4 separate regions of the Homo sapiens genome follow, and regions 1, 3 and 4 are each linked to region 2. The links are contacts of gene promoters, found by promoter capture Hi-C in human tissues and cell types (Jung and others, 2019). All regions are on one chromosome and are shown on one strand. The core of a region is centred on a gene start or on the middle of the fragment in contact, and the rest is flanking DNA. Distances in the headings are between cores, read along the strand shown.

Region 1 (2,700 bases), core at 66-2,565, 520 kb before region 2:
AATATATGCAAATGTATTCAGAGAAGCGCTGCATGGCATGGGCAGATAGAGGCAAAGTGAGGAGGAAAATTCATCTCCGTCTCAGGGATTTTGCCTCTGATAGGGTTCTCCTGGAGATCTCGGTGAAACCTTCATTATCCCCCCTTCTTCTCTCCAATTGGTCCCCACATCCTGGCTGATTCTGCTTAAAAACTCATCTCTCAAATCTGCCCCTTCTCACCAGCCCTGCACCAGCGCACTGTCTCCTGCCTCCTTTGCTCTCCAAGGAGCTGTTTCTCCAGCTCCCGTCCAGGCTCCCTGCCTCCACCTTTGTTGTCTGCAGGATGGAGCCCCCTGAGGTGCCAATTGGATGGGGCCATGTCCTTGATGAAGGCCTTCCATTGGCTTCCTGTCATCCCCAGGGGGGGGAAAAGAAAACCCAAGTTCAATATCCTAAAATGCAAGGCCTTTGAGATCTACTTCAACACACGTACCTTCTCTCCTTGTGCCCATGGGTCCCATGCTCCTGCCACATCTCCCTCACCTTTTGTTGAATCCTCAGTTGCACCTTCAGACTTCTGTGCAAGCTGCTCTCTCTGCTGGCCATGCTCTTCCCTTCTGGTACCTGAGGAAAGCTTCCCTCTTCTATAAACCCAGCTCAGATATTGTTTCTTTGGTAACATCTTTCCTCATCTTTTCAGTTTGACAGAATTTCTCTTCCTCCTTTGTCCCTATTATTCATGCAACAATCAGAATAGTAAGAAGAAGAAAGTGTATCAGGTGCTAACTATGGCCTGACACTAGGCTAAGTGCTCTATATGGGTTATCTCATCAGATTCTGCCAAGGCCCCTGCCAGGGGTATTAGTATTATTATTAATTATTATTATTAATTATTACCTCCCTTCCCATTTTATAGATGAGGAAACCAAGGCTTCGGAAGAGGAAGTTGTTTACCTGTGGTTCCACAGCTAGATAGAAGGAAGCAGGCTGCTCTAAACTCATTACGGCATTTACATATATGTTATATTTTTAAGAGATTTATAGTTTGTGAAGCACTTTTTATATGCATTAAGTAATTTGAGCTTCACAATGATCCTGGCAGGTGTATGTTTGTCTCCTCCTCTTATCCAAGAGTTTTGTGAGCAGTTTCTTGGTCATCTCTAATTCCCTAGTACTCAGTGCAAAGGCCTATATTGATAAGTGTGGAATGGATGGTTGGATGGATTTGTAGTCAGATGGGTGGATAGGTGGGTGGGTGGGTGGATGGTTGGATGGATGGGTGGATGAACTGGTCAGTGGGTGAATGGATGAATGGATATATGGATAGGCGAATGAATGATGAATAAGTGGATAGGTTGGTGGATGGGTAAGTGAATGGGAAAATGGACAGATGGATAGATGAATGATGGGTATGTGGATGGATTGACAGGTGGATAAGTGGATGGGCAAATGGATGGATGGATAAGTGGGTCAGTAGATGAATGGATGAATGGATGATGGATAAGTGGATAGATTGGTAGGTAGATGGGAAAATGAATGGGCACATGGACGGATAAATGGAGGAATGGCTAGAGAGATGTCTGGAAGAGTGGATCAATGAATAAATGGTCAGACAGATGAAGCAATAAACCCCAATAAAGTCCTCACTGTCAATTCCAATACTTCCTGAATTCAGATGTCACATTAGCCATTAGAGTTATGTGAATGAGCCAAAGAATGAAAGCCCAGTATATCCCAGGCGTCTTTTCCACTTCCCCTACCACAATCCCCGTTCACTGCAGAGGAGCAAAAATATTCCTTCTGAAAAGCTGTCCTTCAGCATCTGATCTCCACGCAGTGGCTGGGCCTAGCATCCTGCATATTCACACACAATGGGGCACTGGATTCGCTGAAGGTGAAACTCAACCAGGAGACTTGGGAGTGGCACTGTGGCCTCCAGCCTGGGGAAACAGACATCCCATGCCACGCTGCGCTCCACAGCCTTCCCCGACCACTGTTGTCTGCTTTCTAAATAAACCCTGAGACAGAGCTGTGTGGGGTTATAAATCAGCCGGAAATCAAATGCTAACATGTAAATAAATTGCAAATCAGCTGAGAAATTGGTTTCATTTTGAGACGATAAAGCACATTTCTCCTGCACTGATTTTGTAAGGCGCCCCTTAAGAATTGTAATATTTCTGTGTGGTAATGATAAACATTAGTGAGTTGCTTTAGAAATGAAAAAATAGACAGCCTCTGGGGATTTGAAAAACATATGCACTTCAAATTTGAAAATCCAATTTAACTGTCCATTATAAGGAGAATAAAAAGGTAAGGATAGGATAATTTTGCAGTTACACAGCATTTGACTAAATCTGATTCTGCGATGACAGGCACACTTTAAAAGCTACAAGTCTGAATGCGAGGAGACAGCAAATCATTTATTTATGATTGTAATCTAGCTCCTGTCTAACAAGTTAGCGACTGTGCTGCTTGCTCTCTGGCTGCGGACGGCATGTGTACATTTGTCAGTTAACACTCTTAAAAATATTTCTCATGGAATTTCTGGGTTTGGAGGGGAAAAAAAAACAAAGAAGAGGGAAGATAAAAGAGATAATCCTTGTCTAATTTACCTAAATAGGCAGATGCTGAAATTGCCAAAGTTTAGAAAGAAACAAAACTTTTGTCTTTAATTTTTGCGGAAAGCAACTTTGGTAAATACGTGTGTGCGCAAATGCGTG
Region 2 (2,700 bases), core at 195-2,694:
ACTCCGAGTGGCCGCGCGCGTGGAAGCCGTAGGGCTCCATGTTCATGCCCAAGATCGGGGGTTCGCCCAGCGCGCTCATAGCAGGATCCACAGGGCCAGGGGGCCCCCCAGTGTGGAAAGCCGGGGCCTTAAAGTGGGTGTTCATGCTCAGTCCGGTCTCGTTAAAGTTCCTCTCGCCCTGGCCAGCGTTCCTGCTGTTGACCTGGGGCTCGAATTGGTCCAGCCCAAACATACTTGGCGGGGGGCAGAGGGGGATCAATAGGGCATGACAGCCGGCTCTCCGCGGCGCGCCTCCGGCCAGCTACTCGTTCCAGCCCAGGATTGGGCGCTCCGGGACGCTCAGCACCGCGGGGGCTCAGCGCGCACCTCCACCCCGCCTGATGTGAGGGACGGGGGGCGGGGTATTAGCTCCTCTCCTGAAGCTCCGATTCTGCCCGGGGAGGGCCTCTCACATCTTGCGAGGCCGCGGGGCCTCTAGGAGCCGTGTTGGGGGGCCCATGCCCCGGGCGGTTGTCACAGCCGCGGGTGGGTCTGCGGGGAGGGGACGAAGCCGCGGATGAACGGAGACAAAAAGTTAAGTGGGGGGAATGGGGAGGGAAGGGGGTTGGGAGAGCAGAGCGATCACCTTCTCAAGTCCGATTGGGTCTGCTGGGGAGCCCTCAGGACGCCGCCCGCAGCCTCCCGGAGTCCGTGGCAGAGCTGCTAAGGGCAGGGGAGGGAGACCCTTCAAAGCCGCGGCTGGCGCCGGGCACCGACAGAGCGGTCCCTCCCCCCGCCCCCCGGAGTCCCCGCGCCCCGCAGCCCGAGCCTCCACCGAGCACGATCCGCTCGCACAATCCCCGTAGGCTCCGGGCGAGCGGCTGCTGCTTCTTCAGCGGGTCGGAGGACTGGAGGCTCCGCTCGGCATCGCCGGTGCCGGCCCCCGAGCCGAGGACGCAGAGGGGCTGCGAGGCGGCAGGCGCCGGGGGCTGGAGCCGAGGGTCGGGGAAAGGCGCGGCTCCTCTGCTCGGCAGCGGGTGCGCTGCGTTCGGCGCGCAGCTTCGCGGCCACGTCCGCCGCCTGCCGCTTCTGTTCTCCGCCGTTGGGTGTCTGAGTTCGCCGGAGTCTCCGCGCACCGTTGCAGGCGCGGGAGGGCAGCGAGACGAGGGGTTGGGTCGCTCCAAGGCTCCGGTTCCCTGCCTCCGCGCTGAGGTGCTTCGCGAGTCCCTCTCGGACCTGAGGGAGGGGGGCGTACGCGGGTCGGGGGGCCACGCCGGGCGAGCAGGCTAAGGCGTTCCCGCTGCGCTCTCAGAGCCCGGAATGGGGGGAGGGGGGCGCGGGGGCAGCTCTGGGGGGTCTGCGCACCCCTCTCCCGACTAGCGGGGGGGCTCTGCGTGGGGCGTTCCGAGGGTCTCGGCTCCCCTCTCTGTGTCTGCCTCTCGCCCAGCGCCGGGAGAAGCAGCAACAAGTTTTGCATTTCAGCAATCAATTTCAGCCATTACATTTGCACCAATCAGCGCCGCCCAAGTTCCGGGCTCGGGGCGGGGCTCGCTCTTAAGGTGGTCCGGGGTCCTGGCTGCCGAAGCCCCCGCCACGAACCCGCACTACCCCAGCTCTGGGGTCCCCTGCGCCCGCCTCTCCTCGGGGTCCGGCGTCAGTGCGCTGGGGGCGCGCCCCGGCCTCCGGGCGCATCGAGCTGGAGAGGGTGCAGGCGGAGGAGAATGGCGGGAGCTTGGCTTTGTTCACCCCCTTCCCATTCACACTGTTCCCAACTCCCCACCCCCAACTGGAGCGAGACCCACCGGGTGGGCAGGGGGCGGGGAGGTGGGCGGTGAGCGGTACGGGGCGCTCAGACAATGAGGTCGCCAGGCAAAGACCCTAGACTCGCCACGGAAAGTCGCTAAGTGTCTACTGCACTTCGGCTCCGGGGTGAACACTCCGTTCTCCGCTAGCGGCGCCCAAGTTAGCCGGCCCTGGGATTTTCTTGGAGGGTAAAGCAGACGGGGAACCTCGAAGTTAGGGTTCTCCTCGAGAGACCTGGGCGCTTGCTCACTCCTCCGTCACTAGGGCGTTCACAATTGTTCCCCTTCCCCACTGCCTGGGGTTCCCGGTTCTCACCGGCCGGCGTGGGCTCCAAGGAGTCACAGTCACTCAGCCACTTTATGGGGGAGCACATCGGTTGAGCCCAGTAACCGGAGCGACTTGCGAGGCGGCTGGGAACCCCGAGAAGACACGCACGAAGAGGGCGCACCCGCCGGGCCGCACACCTTGCCCTGGGCCACCCGGTCCAAGACCCAGACCCTCTGCGGGTGCGAAGTTGGCCTCCTTAAGAGATCAATTAAACTGAAGAGGCCGAGGAATGGAATTGGGCTGTGATACTAAAATCAATAGGAGTAATTTAATATCTGCCCTGCTCTTTATGAAATATTTATCCCAATAATCTTAGTTAAAATGTTTAGATCGTCCTGATCCCCACAGAGGCTGAAATCTATCTTGCAATTAGAAGTTGGAAGTTAGAGGTGATGGAGGATAGAGGTGTTTATTCTGTGCGCCTGTGTGCGTGTGCTCGCGCCTGCGTGCGTGTGTTTGTGCATGCGTGTGTGTGTGTGTGTGTGTTCCTCCCTAAAGTGTGTGTAGGGAAGGAGGGGGGAGAAGGCCTTTAATTTTCCTTGCCATAAAATAGCACGAGGCGATTTTGCTAGCAGATTCGCATTCTTAGGA
Region 3 (2,700 bases), core at 169-2,668, 600 kb before region 2:
TATGTTGTGTTTCCTGGACCTCTGTTTCTTAATCTGCAAAATGGGCATGATAAGAGCCTTTGACAATCCAGAGACATGAGGTCCTGCTGGGACAAGTACCGTGGGAAACGTGAAGTGCTAAGGGACAGTGTCCCAAACCTCAGTGTGGCCCTCCTTCCTGATTTAGTTCACATCCTTGTTCTACCTTGGAAGATTTATTTTTTTTCCTTTATACCAACTTTGATTTGATAATACCCTTGAAATCAGAGAATGAGGTGCTGATTCTGTATGTTTTTTTTTTCTAATACATATGAATATAGACAAAAAGCCATTGAGATAAGAAAGGTAAGTTCATTCTTGTACCAACTAATCCAGTGCTCTGTGGGAAGTACAGGATTAGGAAGAAATTAAATGATAGCCTACAAACACACACACACACACACACACACACACACACACACTCCACTAACCACCACCACCACCACCGCCGCCACCACCAATGTATTCTGCAAATTCATATACAATTTGCAAACCTCCTCCTGAAATAAGAGAGAGAGGGCAATTGAAACTATCTAAGGCAGCACTTGGAACACGCAGGCCAAAGACTGAGCCAGGGAGGGATTGTTATCACATGGGCTGTGGGGAGGCAGAGCTCCCCTGTGTCCCCGAGAGCACCCCTCCCCGGGGCCCCACCAGCCCCCAACTCGCCTCTCGAATTCCCACCTCTCCCCTTGCTCTGCGCCTTTGGAAACCCAGACAGCGGCCCCACTCCCGTGATTCATCCAGCAGGAATGTGGGAGTTCTCGAATTGCTCCAGCTAAAGCCTTTTAATTCCCCTTCGGTGATGAATGGGTGAGGCCCTCAAATGAAATGTGGAGGCTCCCAGTCCCAGCCCGCGGCCCTCCCCCTCCTCGGCGTAATTATTTCTGTGCAGAACATGTCAAGTGCCCTGCTTCCCGGGAACTTGTTTCGCATGCAAACATTTGGTGATTAAGCGAGGCTTACTTAATTAAGCACTTTGTAATGACTCTTAAACCAAAGAACAGTGGATTAGGAGTCCAGTTCGTGCTGGTGATGGGAAAGGCAGCTTCATATCACAAGGAGGCAGACAGTGATCTGGTGTGGGGAGGCGGCCGGGCCAAGCGGGGCAGAGTAGGCGCTCTGGGAACTCTGCTAGAATCACTCATTCATTCATTCAATCAATTTATTTTTGGAGCACTTCTTGGAGCCAGAGTAGCTGGTGAACAATAATAATAATAATAATAGGGCCAGGCACTGTGCTAATAAGTCTGCTGAATAACAAGAGTGAGGAGGAGCCAGAGATAGTTATTGAGAGCTGACTCTACTAGGCATGAACTGCTAGTAGTAGTGACGGCAATAATAAGCATTTTCATTGCAGCAGCAAATCCTTGAATAGGATTTTGCTGTGGCCCTGCGTGCCCTGAAACTGCTGGGTTTCTGCCATGGACTTGGCCTTTGGAAACAGCCCCCATCTTTGTTGCTGTCTTACTGACTCACTGGCTTCTCACCCACCAGTGGCTCACTTCCCACATCTGTGTAATGGGTAGTTGGATCTAGATCTTCTCTAAGATGCTTTTGGGTCTTAGGAGCCTAGGGTGTCTCCTCTGCTTCTGGGGGCCACAGGAATGGTGGCGCCACTTTGGGGGCCTCAGCTGCAATATTGCAGAAGGCTTCAGAGCCCAGCCCTACACAGCTCCAGGACAGAGCAAGGGTGACTCTCAGCTCAGACCTTCATAAATTGTGGGACCTTCACCAGGTAGCTTGTCCTCTCTGACGGACAAGTCCTTCACCTCTCAATTGAAATAACCCTTCCATCTGCTTCCAGGGCTCCTGTAAGGGAATCACACAGACTCATGGACATAGATGCCCTTTGAAAACCATCTACCTGGTGGCAGAAGCCATCATGTCTCAAACTTGGACCCACGAACACACCCCAATGTATTCACTTGTCTACTTGCTTTGGTTTTCTCATTTCTACCATAACCCGGAAAAGGGTTCTAATTGCCTTCTAACCTGGGAGATCATCTTAGAACAAAGGGCTTCCATGTGACTTCAGTGCCTGAGTTGATATTTGCTTTCGCAGTTGTGAGATTATTGAGTAAAATCCAAAGGATCTCACAGCGTGGTTCCAATGAAGATTCTGCTGGTGTTCTAAGAGTAGTATGTGATGGAAGAGCTGCCTCATCACGTAGCAGATGAAAGCACAGTGGCCTCCGCAAGGTCCAGCCCACTGCATCAGTGCCAGACTCACACGTGAGTGGACACTAGACTCCAGCCCTTCACAGGCCAATGGGCAATCACTCACTGGCAATGAGGGAGGCAGGCAATATGCAGTGAAAACCTTTCTCTCTTTCTGATGCCTTCAGTAATTGTAATAGATGCTCATTTAATGGTGATTTCAAAAATCTGGCTTATGCAAAGCAGACTACCTTCTTGTGTACTCATGTGATGCCTCGTTAAGTTCAGTAGATTAAGTGAAATCTGATTTAACTGAGGTCTGATTATCCAGAGCTAACAGGCTAAAGTTTCCCATTCCACATACCGTTTTGACCAATACCCCATTTCAAAAGGCATTCTTTGCTTGGAATTATACAAGTTAGAAAACAAAAATAGAGTGTGGCAGCCACTGGTACTCTCCTATCCCAAGTCCATTCTTCCCTTTCTCCATAGCGACAGGCCCCTTATTTTATCTGAGGTGCT
Region 4 (2,700 bases), core at 141-2,640, 570 kb before region 2:
ATCCTTAAACCATCCATTTCTCCAAGATGACCTGATCCCTTTCAATGGAAAATGGTATTTAAAAGCCGTGATATCAAGGCAGGAGAATCACTTGAGCCCAGGAGTTCCAGACCAGCCTGGGCAAAATGACAAAACCCCATCTCCACCAAGAAAAATACAAAAATTAGCCAGGCATGGTGGCGCATGCTTATAGTCACAGCTACTCAGGAGGTTGAAGTGGGAGGATCACTTGAGCCCAGGAGGTCAAGGCTGCAGTGGGCCAAGATCATGCCATTGCACTCCAGCCTGAGTGACAGAGTGAGATACTATCTCAAAAATGAATAAAATAAAATAAAAGCCAAAATACATGTTCTAGGTGTGCTTGTTACTACAAAGGTATTGCTATTTCTAGTTTCTTTCAGTAAATAGAAGACACACTTGAGTTCATTCTGATGCCTCCAAATTAAATCCAACATCACAAAGTTCTTTCTCACAATTCCCTCATTCCATATCATATCTCTCTGATTTCACGGTGAGAACCCCATTTCCCCCAATATCAACATATTTGCTCAATGGTTTCAGAATTACACTGATCCTACTATCAACAACTATCTATTCATTCAAGTTCAAGGTTTCTTTGAAGTTCTTGTTGTCCTTAGAGTGTATTTAATTGAGAGCACAGTTAGAGAACAGTGTTCAAAGGTTATTTGAGCTGATTCCCTTCCTACATGGTTACATTTGTATTATTATTGATTGTTGCTTAACAAACTACCCCAGAACTTAGTGGCTTAAAGCAACAACATTTCTTGTCTCACAGTTTCTCTGGATCCAGGTGTGGCTTACCTGGTTCCTCTATTTCCGGAGCTCTCACAGGTTTCGGTCAAGGTGTCCGCAGGGCTGGGTCCTTCTGGGGGCTTGACCGGGGAAGATCTACTTCCATGCTCACTCACATGGCTGTTGTGGGATTTGATTCCTTGGAGACTGCTGGACTGTGGGCCCCAGTTCCTCACTCAGTACATTGCCAGATGTCCTTCAGTTCCTTGCCAGGTCACCTTCTCTATCAAGCTCAGCACATGAGAAGCACCAGGGAGACAGAATACCAACAAGATAGAAGTCACACCCCTTTGGAACCTAATTGTCAGGAGTAACATCTCATTACTTTTTCCATATTTCATTCATTAGAAGTGAGTCACCAGGTCCAGCCAACGTTCAAGGGAAAAGGATTAAACAAAATGCTGGAGTATCCGGAAGTGAGCATCAATGGGGGCCACTTTAGAAGCCTGCCTAGCAGAGTTATCAACGTGATGTGTAGTTAGGCTTGTTTGTTTCTATTTGCCTTCAATTTTAGGGTTTGGTGTCTTTTTCAACATCTTTGATTAAATTTCATCTTTGAATCTGTAAAATATTTATATGATTCAAGAGTATAAATTATAGACAAAGAAGTCCCAAGAGCAGTCTCATTCTTATCTCCATGCTGTCACCCCATTCCCAATTACCTTCTTTTTTAAATTTTTAAATTTTAATTTTAATTTATTTATTTACTTATTTTTTTGAGACGGAGTCTCGCTCTGTCACCCAGGCTGGAGTGCAGTGGCGTGATCTCGGCTCACTGCAAGTTCCGCCTCCCCAGTTCATGCCATCCTTCTCCTGCCTCAGCCTCCTGAGTAGCTGGGACTACAGGCGCCCGCCACCATGCCCGGCTAATTTTTTGTATTTTTAGTAGATATGGAGTTTCATTGTGTTAGCCAGGATGGTCTTGATCTCCTGACCTTGTGATCCACCCGTCTCGGCCTCCCAAAGTGCTGGCATTACAGGCGTGAGCCACCACACCCTGCCCCCAATTACTCTCTATAGTCACTTTTACCCATAAGTGAATCCTGCCAGTTTTTACTTCTATGACTCTATATTCATGTATTTTTAGCTTTCCATATTTTTTAGATAAAAGAGAACATACCATAGGTACTCGCTTGCACTTTGCTTTTTCATTTAAAGCAAAAAAAGATTTAGAAATCATTTTCATTCGTAACAGTTATCCTCAATTTTTTTGTAGCTGCTTAGTACTTCATTATCCAGAAGATTCACAGTTTGTTCAACTGGTCTCCTATGAGTAGGCATTTAGGTTGTTTCTAATATTTTGCTACTACAAATGATATAATGAATAACCACATGCATTTGTTGTTCTGGGCTTGCAGAAGTATATTTTTAGGTAAATTCCAAAATGTAGGATTGAAGGGCTAAAAGGTAAACACATATGTGATATTGTTAGATATTTTCAAATACCCCATTTGCATTTCCACCAGCAATGTATGAGATAATCTGTTTCCCTACATTGTCGCCATGTTCCAACAGAGTATGTGGTCAAGCTTTCACCTTTTGTCAGTCTAAGAGGTAAGAAATACTATGTTTGGGTAGCTTTAATTTGCATTTCTCTTGTGCATGGAGTTGAACACCTTTTCACATTTTGAGGTCCATTTATACATCTCTTTCTGTGAACCATCTAATCACGTTTTTTCCTTATTTTTAAAAACTGAGTTTTTGGTCTTTATTCTTGATTTTTAAGAACTCTTTATGTATTAAGGACATCAACTACTTATCTGTGACATAGATTAAAAATGTTTTCTTCCAGCTTCTCTTTTGACTTCACTTTCGATGTTTGTTACAAAATGGTTATGCATTCAGATTTATCAGTCTTTTTTATTACATTATGTTTTGAATCATAAG

What was found. Contacts are between HindIII fragments. The study calls those that stand out against the background at their distance.
Region 1: a fragment that was not itself captured here is called in contact with the fragment with the promoter of MN1 in region 2 in 4 of the 25 tissues and cell types used here (H1 embryonic stem cells, IMR-90 fibroblasts, lymphoblastoid cells and 1 more).
Region 3: a fragment that was not itself captured here is called in contact with the fragment with the promoter of MN1 in region 2 in 1 of the 25 tissues and cell types used here (mesenchymal stem cells).
Region 4: a fragment that was not itself captured here is called in contact with the fragment with the promoter of MN1 in region 2 in 1 of the 25 tissues and cell types used here (dorsolateral prefrontal cortex).

Annotation. Positions count from the first base shown.
Region 1 is chr22:27,284,534-27,287,233 of GRCh38, forward strand. No RefSeq gene overlaps it. Among named protein-coding and RNA genes, the nearest start is that of LINC02554, 25 kb to the right of the region's middle. The HindIII fragment of the contact is 5,633 bases long and covers 1-2,700 here.
Region 2 is chr22:27,800,312-27,803,011 of GRCh38, forward strand. It overlaps MN1 (MN1 proto-oncogene, transcriptional regulator), which reads right to left and starts at 1,445. Exons shown (of 2, transcript NM_002430.3): 1 at 1-1,445. The coding sequence starts at 232. The HindIII fragment of the contact is 23,630 bases long and covers 1-2,700 here.
Region 3 is chr22:27,202,108-27,204,807 of GRCh38, forward strand. No RefSeq gene overlaps it. Among named protein-coding and RNA genes, the nearest start is that of LINC01638, 21 kb to the right of the region's middle. The HindIII fragment of the contact is 5,933 bases long and covers 1-2,700 here.
Region 4 is chr22:27,225,707-27,228,406 of GRCh38, forward strand. No RefSeq gene overlaps it. Among named protein-coding and RNA genes, the nearest start is that of LINC01638, 2.4 kb to the left of the region's middle. RefSeq lists an enhancer at 702-1,901. The HindIII fragment of the contact is 4,081 bases long and covers 1-2,700 here.